Linked DNA regions of Homo sapiens: regions 1 and 2 are each linked to region 3. The links are contacts of gene promoters, found by promoter capture Hi-C in human tissues and cell types (Jung and others, 2019). All regions are on one chromosome and are shown on one strand. The core of a region is centred on a gene start or on the middle of the fragment in contact, and the rest is flanking DNA. Distances in the headings are between cores, read along the strand shown. Region 1 has its middle 110 kb from the start of SLC35F3. Region 2 has its middle 120 kb from the start of MIR4427. Region 3 holds the start of KCNK1 (potassium two pore domain channel subfamily K member 1).

The links. Contacts are between HindIII fragments. The study calls those that stand out against the background at their distance.
Region 1: a contact is called between a fragment that was not itself captured here and the fragment with the promoter of KCNK1 in region 3, in 1 of the 25 tissues and cell types used here (mesendoderm cells).
Region 2: a contact is called between a fragment that was not itself captured here and the fragment with the promoter of KCNK1 in region 3, in 1 of the 25 tissues and cell types used here (neural progenitor cells).

Annotation. Positions count from the first base shown.
Region 1 is chr1:233,795,094-233,797,793 of GRCh38, forward strand. No RefSeq gene overlaps it. Among named protein-coding and RNA genes, the nearest start is that of SLC35F3, 110 kb to the right of the region's middle. The HindIII fragment of the contact is 3,969 bases long and covers 1-2,700 here.
Region 2 is chr1:233,741,158-233,743,857 of GRCh38, forward strand. No RefSeq gene overlaps it. Among named protein-coding and RNA genes, the nearest start is that of MIR4427, 120 kb to the left of the region's middle. The HindIII fragment of the contact is 3,831 bases long and covers 1-2,700 here.
Region 3 is chr1:233,612,702-233,615,401 of GRCh38, forward strand. KCNK1 (potassium two pore domain channel subfamily K member 1) reads left to right here and starts at 1,405. Exons shown (of 3, transcript NM_002245.4): 1 at 1,405-1,825. The coding sequence starts at 1,471. RefSeq lists enhancers at 531-1,183, 2,372-2,431 and silencers at 972-1,071, 1,432-1,501, 1,842-1,901. The HindIII fragment of the contact is 20,351 bases long and covers 1-2,700 here.

The DNA.
Region 1 (2,700 bases), core at 98-2,597, 180 kb after region 3:
TTACAGGAACCTGGATGAAGCTGGAGGTCATTATCCTTCACAAACTAATGCAGGAATAGAAAACCAAATACCACTTGTTCTCAATTATAACTGGGAGCTAAATGATTAGAACACATGGACACATAGAGGGAAAGAATATATACTGGGGCTCACCAGAGAGTGGAGGGTGGGAGGAGGGAGAGGATCAGGAAAAAGAACTAATGGGTACTAGGCTTAATACCTGGGTGACAAAATTATCTGTAAAACAAACCCCCAGGACACAAATTTACCTATATAACAAATCTGCATATGTACCCCTGAACTTAAATAAAAGTTAACAAACCCCACAAATCCCTACATGAAAAGACAGGGCTAATTAGCTAATTGGTAGTAATACTATTAGCAGTGTTTACTGAGTGCTTGTATCAGCCAGACACTGGTCTCAGAGCTTGAGATGCTTTAGCTCATTAAGTTAATTGGCCCATGAGTTGGGTACCATTACTGCCCTCCACCTTACAAACAGTGAACCTGAAGCAGAAAGAGTTTAACCTCAAGGTCACCCTGGTGGACATCTTGGATTTTGAATATAGGCTTTATGGTTCCATCTTGTATGCTTTGAAGCATCCCACTGCCCCTCTCACAGGATAAGGCAGGAATCACCCCCTTTGGTGTTGTGAGGACACTCAGGCCAGCCTGTGTTGCTATAGATAAATACCTGAGGCTTCATGATTTATAAAGAAAATAGGTTTATTTTGTTCTTCAGGCTGTACATGAAGCTTGGCACCAGTCTCTGCTTCTTCTGAGGACCTCAGGAAGTTGTAGCAGAAAAGGCAGGGAAGCTGGTGGGCCACATGATGAAGAAGGGAGCAAGAGAGAGGGGGATGGTCCCAGGCTATTTTGAACAATCAGCTGTACATTTTGGGGTGAACTGACTACACAGAAATTTATAGATGATCTTTCTTACTGTGAGAGTGGTTATGCACAAGGACTCTGTTCCTAGCTGAGCCATCACAGTACTTGCAGAGAGGCCAAACACTGGTACTCAAGGTTGTGTCTTTTTTAATGTCACACAGTCTCTCGTGTGGGTGAGGACTTAGTTGCCAAAGAGAGAAAAATTTTGTTGAGTCTCTGATTGGCAACTTTACCAATAAGGACACTTGAAAGCATGTTTTTTAACCCTGTGGTTGAAATGGCCTAGACACACCATGTTTGCCTCTGTCCAGGGATGTGGTCTGTTGAGCAGGTTTCATGTTCTGCTTCACTGCCTTCCAGTTCTCTATCACCAGCCCATTAGCTTTTGTCAGCTGGAGGATCCACACGGATGCCCACACACTGGGCTTCCCAGATGAGCTGCCTTCAAAGGCTGCTGCTGCTGCCTTTAGAAATGTATGAGTCCCTTCTGTCATCCTTCCCAAGATGGTGCATGGCAAGGCCCGTGGTTGTTGTGAAAGAAATATGTAGAATGAATGGTTGGCAAGGCAGCATTCCTTACTCTCTCACCACTTCCAATAAATCACATTCACATGACAGTTTCCACAATGAGAAATGGGAAATCATAGTTTCTCCAGCTTGCTTTTCTGTCTTAAGGAATGTTAGAGAGACGCTACTTGCAAAATGAAGTCGTCTCTTGGTGTCTACAGGGAATTCGTTCCAGGAGGAGGCTCAAGTCCCTTATGTAAAATGACATGGCATTTACATATAACCTACTCACATCCTTTTGTATACTTTAAATCATCTCTATATGACATAATACCAATACAATGTAAATGCTATGTAAATACTTGTTATATTGCATTTTTAATTTGTATTATTTTTTATTGTTATTAAAAAAAATTTTTTTTTTCTAATGTTTTTGACCTATGGTTGTTTGAATCCATGGCTGCAGAAACTGAGGATACCGAGGGCTGAGTATACTTAGGGTTACCTTAGGAAAATGTGCCTGGGGCACTTTCAACATAAGTGTTTATGATTTTGGAGGATTTACTTTTACCAGGCAAACTTAAACTGATCCATATCCCAGAGCCAATCAGAAGTTAAAGGAGGCCCAGAGAAAATCATAAGAAGAAAATCATAAGAAAAATGTGGGCCCCTTCCTGCCACATAACTCTTCTGCATACTTCTTCTAGGGCCACCGTCAGTGGTGGCTGCCCCCAGAGGTGGGATCCCACCTGTGGCAGGGTCTTAAATCCCCTGAATCTGACTGCAGCCCCGTCCTGGGTTGCTTCATGGCCTTTGCCATCTTCCTTTCAAGACCTCATCTCACAGCTGGCATCAAAGAAAAGGTTTCCTTGCTTTTTTGGCCTTGCAAATGCTTCTCTCCCTGATATAGACACCCCTTCACTTTTCCTCACTGTTTCTAGGTTCTTTAGTCATCCCAAAGGGCAAGCCTGCTATGTGTTCAGGTGTAGCTTTGCCAGGGAGGTGCCTTTAGTTTAAGGGTCAAAGGCATAAAGGTCTACAGTAGGAGTTAATCTGGCTTGGATGCTGGGCAAAATTTCTTTTTTTTTTCTTTACTTTTTTTTTTTTTTTTTAAGTTCCAGGCTACATGTGTAGGATGTTCAGGTTTGTTACCTAGGTAAACGTGTGCTATGGTGGTTTGCTGCACCTATCAACCCAGGCAAAATTTCATAGAGGGGCAATTTCTGGGTTTTCTAAAGCTGGCCAACTCTCCATGAATAGTTAAAGCTGGTTTAGGGTTCCAGACTCGTTCTTCCCAAGGGC
Region 2 (2,700 bases), core at 186-2,685, 130 kb after region 3:
TATGTATAGATCTATATCTCTCTATATCTATATCTATATCTATGTCTATATCTATATCTATATCTATTTTTGAGACAAAGTCTCACTCTGTTGCCCAGGCTGGAGTGCAGTAGTGTGATCTTGGCTCACTGCAACCTCTACCTCCTGAGTTCAAGTGATTTTCCTGCCTCAGCCTCCCTAGTAGCTGGGACTACAAGCGTGCACCACCACACCTGGCTAATTTTTATTTATTTTTTATTTTTTTATTTTTATTTTTTTTTATTTAGTAGAGACATGGTTTCACCATGTTGGCCAGGCTGGTCTCAAACTCCTGACCTCAAGTGATCTGCCCACCTTGGCCTCCCAAAGTGCTAAGATTGCAGATGTGATTCACCCCACCAAGCCTAAATATTGATTATAGGAGTTCTCTATACATTTTGGATATATATTCTGGATATATTCCTGAACATATGTCAGATACATGTATTGCAAGAATTTCACTCTGTGTCTCACCTTTTATTTTCTTAATGGTGTCAAAAAAGATATTTTTGATTTGATGAACTGCAATTGACTAATAATTTTTATTTTACAGTTAGTGCTTTTGATGGCCCACCTAAGAAATTTTTGCCTACTCAAAGCTGCATAGATAGTCTCTGCTTTCATCTATAAGTTTTCGAGCTTCATGTTTAAGCTTATGATCCATCCCCAAGTAATTTTTGTTCATAGTCTAAAATAGAGATCATGGATCACATTTTCCTATATGTTTATTTGATTATTGTAGCTTTGTTTGTTGAAAAGACTTTTGTTTTTGAATTGCCTTGGTGCCTTCTTTTGTTGAAAATTAATTGAATATGTGAGTCTATTTCTGGACTCTTCCAGTAGCATTAATCTACTTGTCTGTCTTATATCAGTATCAAACTATCTTAAATACTGTAGTATTATAATTAGTGCTTAAATCAATTGGAGTAAGTTCTACTGAGTTCTTTTTCAAGATTCTTTTGGCTAATTTAGAACCTTAGCATTTTCATATACATTTTAGAATGAACTTAATAGCTACCAAAAAAAGCTACTGGGAATAAGGTAGTGATTGTATTGAACCAGTAGCTTTGGGGAAAATTGACATACTAAAAATACTGCCTTTCAATCCATGATGTTATATATGTCCTTTTACTTAGAGCTTTTTAAAATTTCTCTCTACACTTTTTGCACGCATTTTGTACTTTTTAGCATACAGGTCTTGCTTGTCTTTTGTTAATTTTATTCTTAAGCATTTAATTTTTAAATAATTTTATAAAAGGTACCACTTTTAAATCTTAATCTCTAATTGTGCCTATTATGTAGAGTGCAATAAATTTTTTTATCTTGACCTTGTATCATGCAATCATGTTAAATTCACTTAATTCTAGTGGTTGCTATGTAGATTTCTTAGCATTACTTATGCACATGACCATGTCATCTATGAATAAAGTTTATTTCTATTTTCTAATCTTAATGCCTTTTATTTATTTTCCTTCTCTTTTACTGATTAGGATCCCATTCCACTCTTGAATAGAAGTTATGGAATTGGATATACTTATCCAAAGATTGTTCCTGGTCTTTGGGCAAAGCATTCAATAGTTCACCATTTTGTATGATGTAGGTTTTCATAGAGGTTCTTTTTTTTTTTTTTTTTTTTTGAGACAAGGTCTCCCGTGTCACCCAGACTGGAGTACAGTGGCATGATTGTGGCTCACTGCAGTCTCAAACTTCTGTACTCAAGCAAACCTTCTGCATCAGCCTCCCGAGTAGCTAGGACAATAGATGCGCGCCACCATGGCTGGCTAATTTCTTTTGTAGAGACAGGTCTCGCCGTGTTTCCCAGGCTGGTCTCAAACTCTTAGCCTCAAGTGATTCTCCCAGCTCAGCCTCCCAAAGTGCTGGGATTACAGGTGTGAACCATTGCACCAAGGCTCAAATTATTTTCTAATTTGTCTTGTGATTTCTTCTTTGACCTATATCAGTTATTTAAAAAATGTGTTGCTAAATTTCTAAATATTCTTCAATTTTCTAGATATCTTATTATAATTTAATACCATTGTGATCACAGAGCATACTCTGTATTATTTTGATCCTTTGAAATGTATTTCATGATCCAGCATGTAATCTATCTTGGAGAATGTTTCAAGTGAATTTAAAAAGGATGTTTACTCTCCGGTTGTTGGGTGCAATGTTCTATAAATTTCAATCAGATCAGGTCGATTATTAGCGCTGCTAAAATCTTTTATATCCCTATTGGTTTTTCTAGGTAAGTGCTCTATCAATTACTGAGATAGGTGGGGTTTTAAAATATCCCATCATAATTGTGTGATTGTTCTTTTCTCCCTTCAGTTCTGCTGATTTCTGCTTTGTGGCACACTTATTAGATGCACAGGCATGTAGGATTTTTGTCATCTTCTTAATGAATTCAGCCTTTCATTATTACTAAAGACCCCTCATTGTTTTAAAGTCTATAATGTTAGGTATTAATATAGACACAGCAGCTTTCTTTTGCATAGTGTTTTAAATTTTTAAAAATTTTCCTGGTGATTTCTTCTTTGACCCATGAGCTTCTTTTGAAGACTGTTGCTTCCTTTCAAATGTCCTTATTATTGATTTCAAGTATAATTATGTTGTAATCGAAGAATATATGTGTTATATGAATTCAGTCCTCTGAAATTTACTGGGACTTATTTCATTGCCCAA
Region 3 (2,700 bases), core at 155-2,654:
CTATATACTCTACTATTACCCAAAGACAACTGCAAGGAGATAGTTTTATTCCTATGCAGTTGATTAATAATGCAGATGTCATTTTATTTTGTAACAAAATACAAATATTTTACATATTTGAGATTCTACACAGTTTTGCTTCAATAGTCTTTAGACACAACTTTAATGTGTTTAATGTCTATATGGTGTCCATGCTGTAGAGATGCCATAACTTATTTAACCATTCTCTATTTTGGAATATTTAGATTGTTCTGAGTCTTCATTATTTCATCTATACCGTGTGTGTGTGTGTGTGTGTGTGTGTGTCCCACATGTGTATGCACTATATTATACAACTACATGTATGTATATATAGATACCGTCTATGACCAGTCTTTGTAAGTAAGTGCCTCTCTGATTGTTTTTTCTTAGGACATATCACTGAATCAGAACAAATAAACCCTTTCAAGGTTCTTGAGACGTGTCGCTAAATTGCCTTTCCAGAAAGGGTGTACCAATTTTTATTTTCATCCACAAGCAGGCGGCTCGCTGACCCTCGCCCACATTTTTGTCACTTTAAAAAGAAGTGACAGTTGGGAAAGCTCAGTTTCTTCTGGCAGTTGACACATTTGGGATGTTTTTTCACCAAAAAACCTAAGGTCATGTTTTAGAAAATTCGAACTCAGAAATAGGACTTCTCTGAGACTCTCCTTTTCCCTCAAGTCCTTTTTGTGAGGGGGATGGGTGGGAGAGAGGAGACTGATTCAAGGAGCCTTCCAACTCTGATGTTCTGGTATTTTCACCGTCATTACTGGCACCAGATTGCTCAATCCTTCGACCAATAAGACAAAGAAGGAAAGTACTTCAGCGCTTGCTGTTTTGTAATACTGGCTTTGATTGGGAGAAAATAAGTGGGAAACAAGAGTAGCTTGGACAGGGGGCTTGGACGGCCAGCGCATTGACCAGAAGCGGCCCACACTACACGCGCGCGAACACACACACACACACACGCACACGCCGCGCGCGGTCAGCTAGAGTTTGGCTACTGGACCCAGGAAGGGAGGGAGCGGGAGGAGCTGGTGGCTGTCGGGTCGGGGTCTGGGCGCCACCGAGCGCCCGCCCCACCTCTGGAGTGCGCAGAAGGCGGTGCGTCCCGGGCCCCGGCAGCCCAGCCCAGGCGCTCTGGCCAAGTTTGCGCGCGGTCTCCGCTGACTCTCGGGTTACCTGAGCCGGCAACCACGTCAGCGCCACATCATCTGGGCTTTTTATATTGCAAGGAAACAGGAAAAGAAGGAAGAAAAACATCGCCCGAGAGAGCCAATCGCAGGAAGACGGCGCTGCCCGGAGGAGCGGGGCGGGCGGGCGCGCGGGGGAGCGGGCGGCGGGCGGGAGCCAGGCCCGGGCGGGGGCGGGGGCGGCGGGGCCAGAAGAGGCGGCGGGCCGCGCTCCGGCCGGTCTGCGGCGTTGGCCTTGGCGGCGGCGGTGGAGAAGATGCTGCAGTCCCTGGCCGGCAGCTCGTGCGTGCGCCTGGTGGAGCGGCACCGCTCGGCCTGGTGCTTCGGCTTCCTGGTGCTGGGCTACTTGCTCTACCTGGTCTTCGGCGCAGTGGTCTTCTCCTCGGTGGAGCTGCCCTATGAGGACCTGCTGCGCCAGGAGCTGCGCAAGCTGAAGCGACGCTTCTTGGAGGAGCACGAGTGCCTGTCTGAGCAGCAGCTGGAGCAGTTCCTGGGCCGGGTGCTGGAGGCCAGCAACTACGGCGTGTCGGTGCTCAGCAACGCCTCGGGCAACTGGAACTGGGACTTCACCTCCGCGCTCTTCTTCGCCAGCACCGTGCTCTCCACCACAGGTAGGGTATCCTGCGCGCCCCCTGGCCGCCCCGGCCACCTCGCCCACAACCCACACACCCCGGCCCCGGCGCCCCGGGCCCCTCTAACCCTCCCACCCCACCCCCCACCTTTCGCCATCCCGGCTCCTCCAGCCCGCCTCCCCTCACTGTCCTCCCGACCCTCCGACCTTCCCCTTACTGGCGTCCCCGGCCTCTGCCTGGGTGACTCGGGAGGGCAAGCCCTGCGGAGCCGGAAGCCAGAGAGGTGACTCCAGACGTGACTTGGTTGTTGCCGTCCGTAACTCTGGGGAAGTGGTCCCTAACTTCGGCCTGGGTGGCTGCAGGTGCTTCCTCCCCTTGAGTTCTTTTTTCGCAACCCACTAAGCCAAACTGTCGGGTTTGAATGTGTAGCAGCACCTGGCCGCCGTGCGGCAAGGCAGCGGGATGATGGAAACTCACCACCTTCCTCCCGCACCCATCCCAGAGGCCGAGGCTGCAGTCTGGTAATAATACCTTCTAAAGGGTCACCTTCCGGAGTGTGCCGTCCCTTTGGACCATGCACAGATATTCCAGCTCTTTTGTACCTTGGAGGCAGTTTTGGGGGTAGCCGAGTGACATCACTCTGCTCTTCCCAGGTGACCTCTGGGCGGACAGGCCGATCCGGTTTCTTTTCAGAGTAGGAGGAAGGGTGAGGGAGAGTAAAGGAACCATAGGATTGCCTAAGATCTGACTTAATTGGGGCACCCTGATTCAGCAGTTCCTTCAACTTGAGGTGTGCGAGGCTCCCCATAAACTTCGAAGCGCCACGTCCCCGTACGACTCACCCGCGGGGCGCCCGGCCATGGAGGAGCCTCCTCAGGTGAAAGATGAGGCCGGGCGCATGCCCCAGGGCTCGG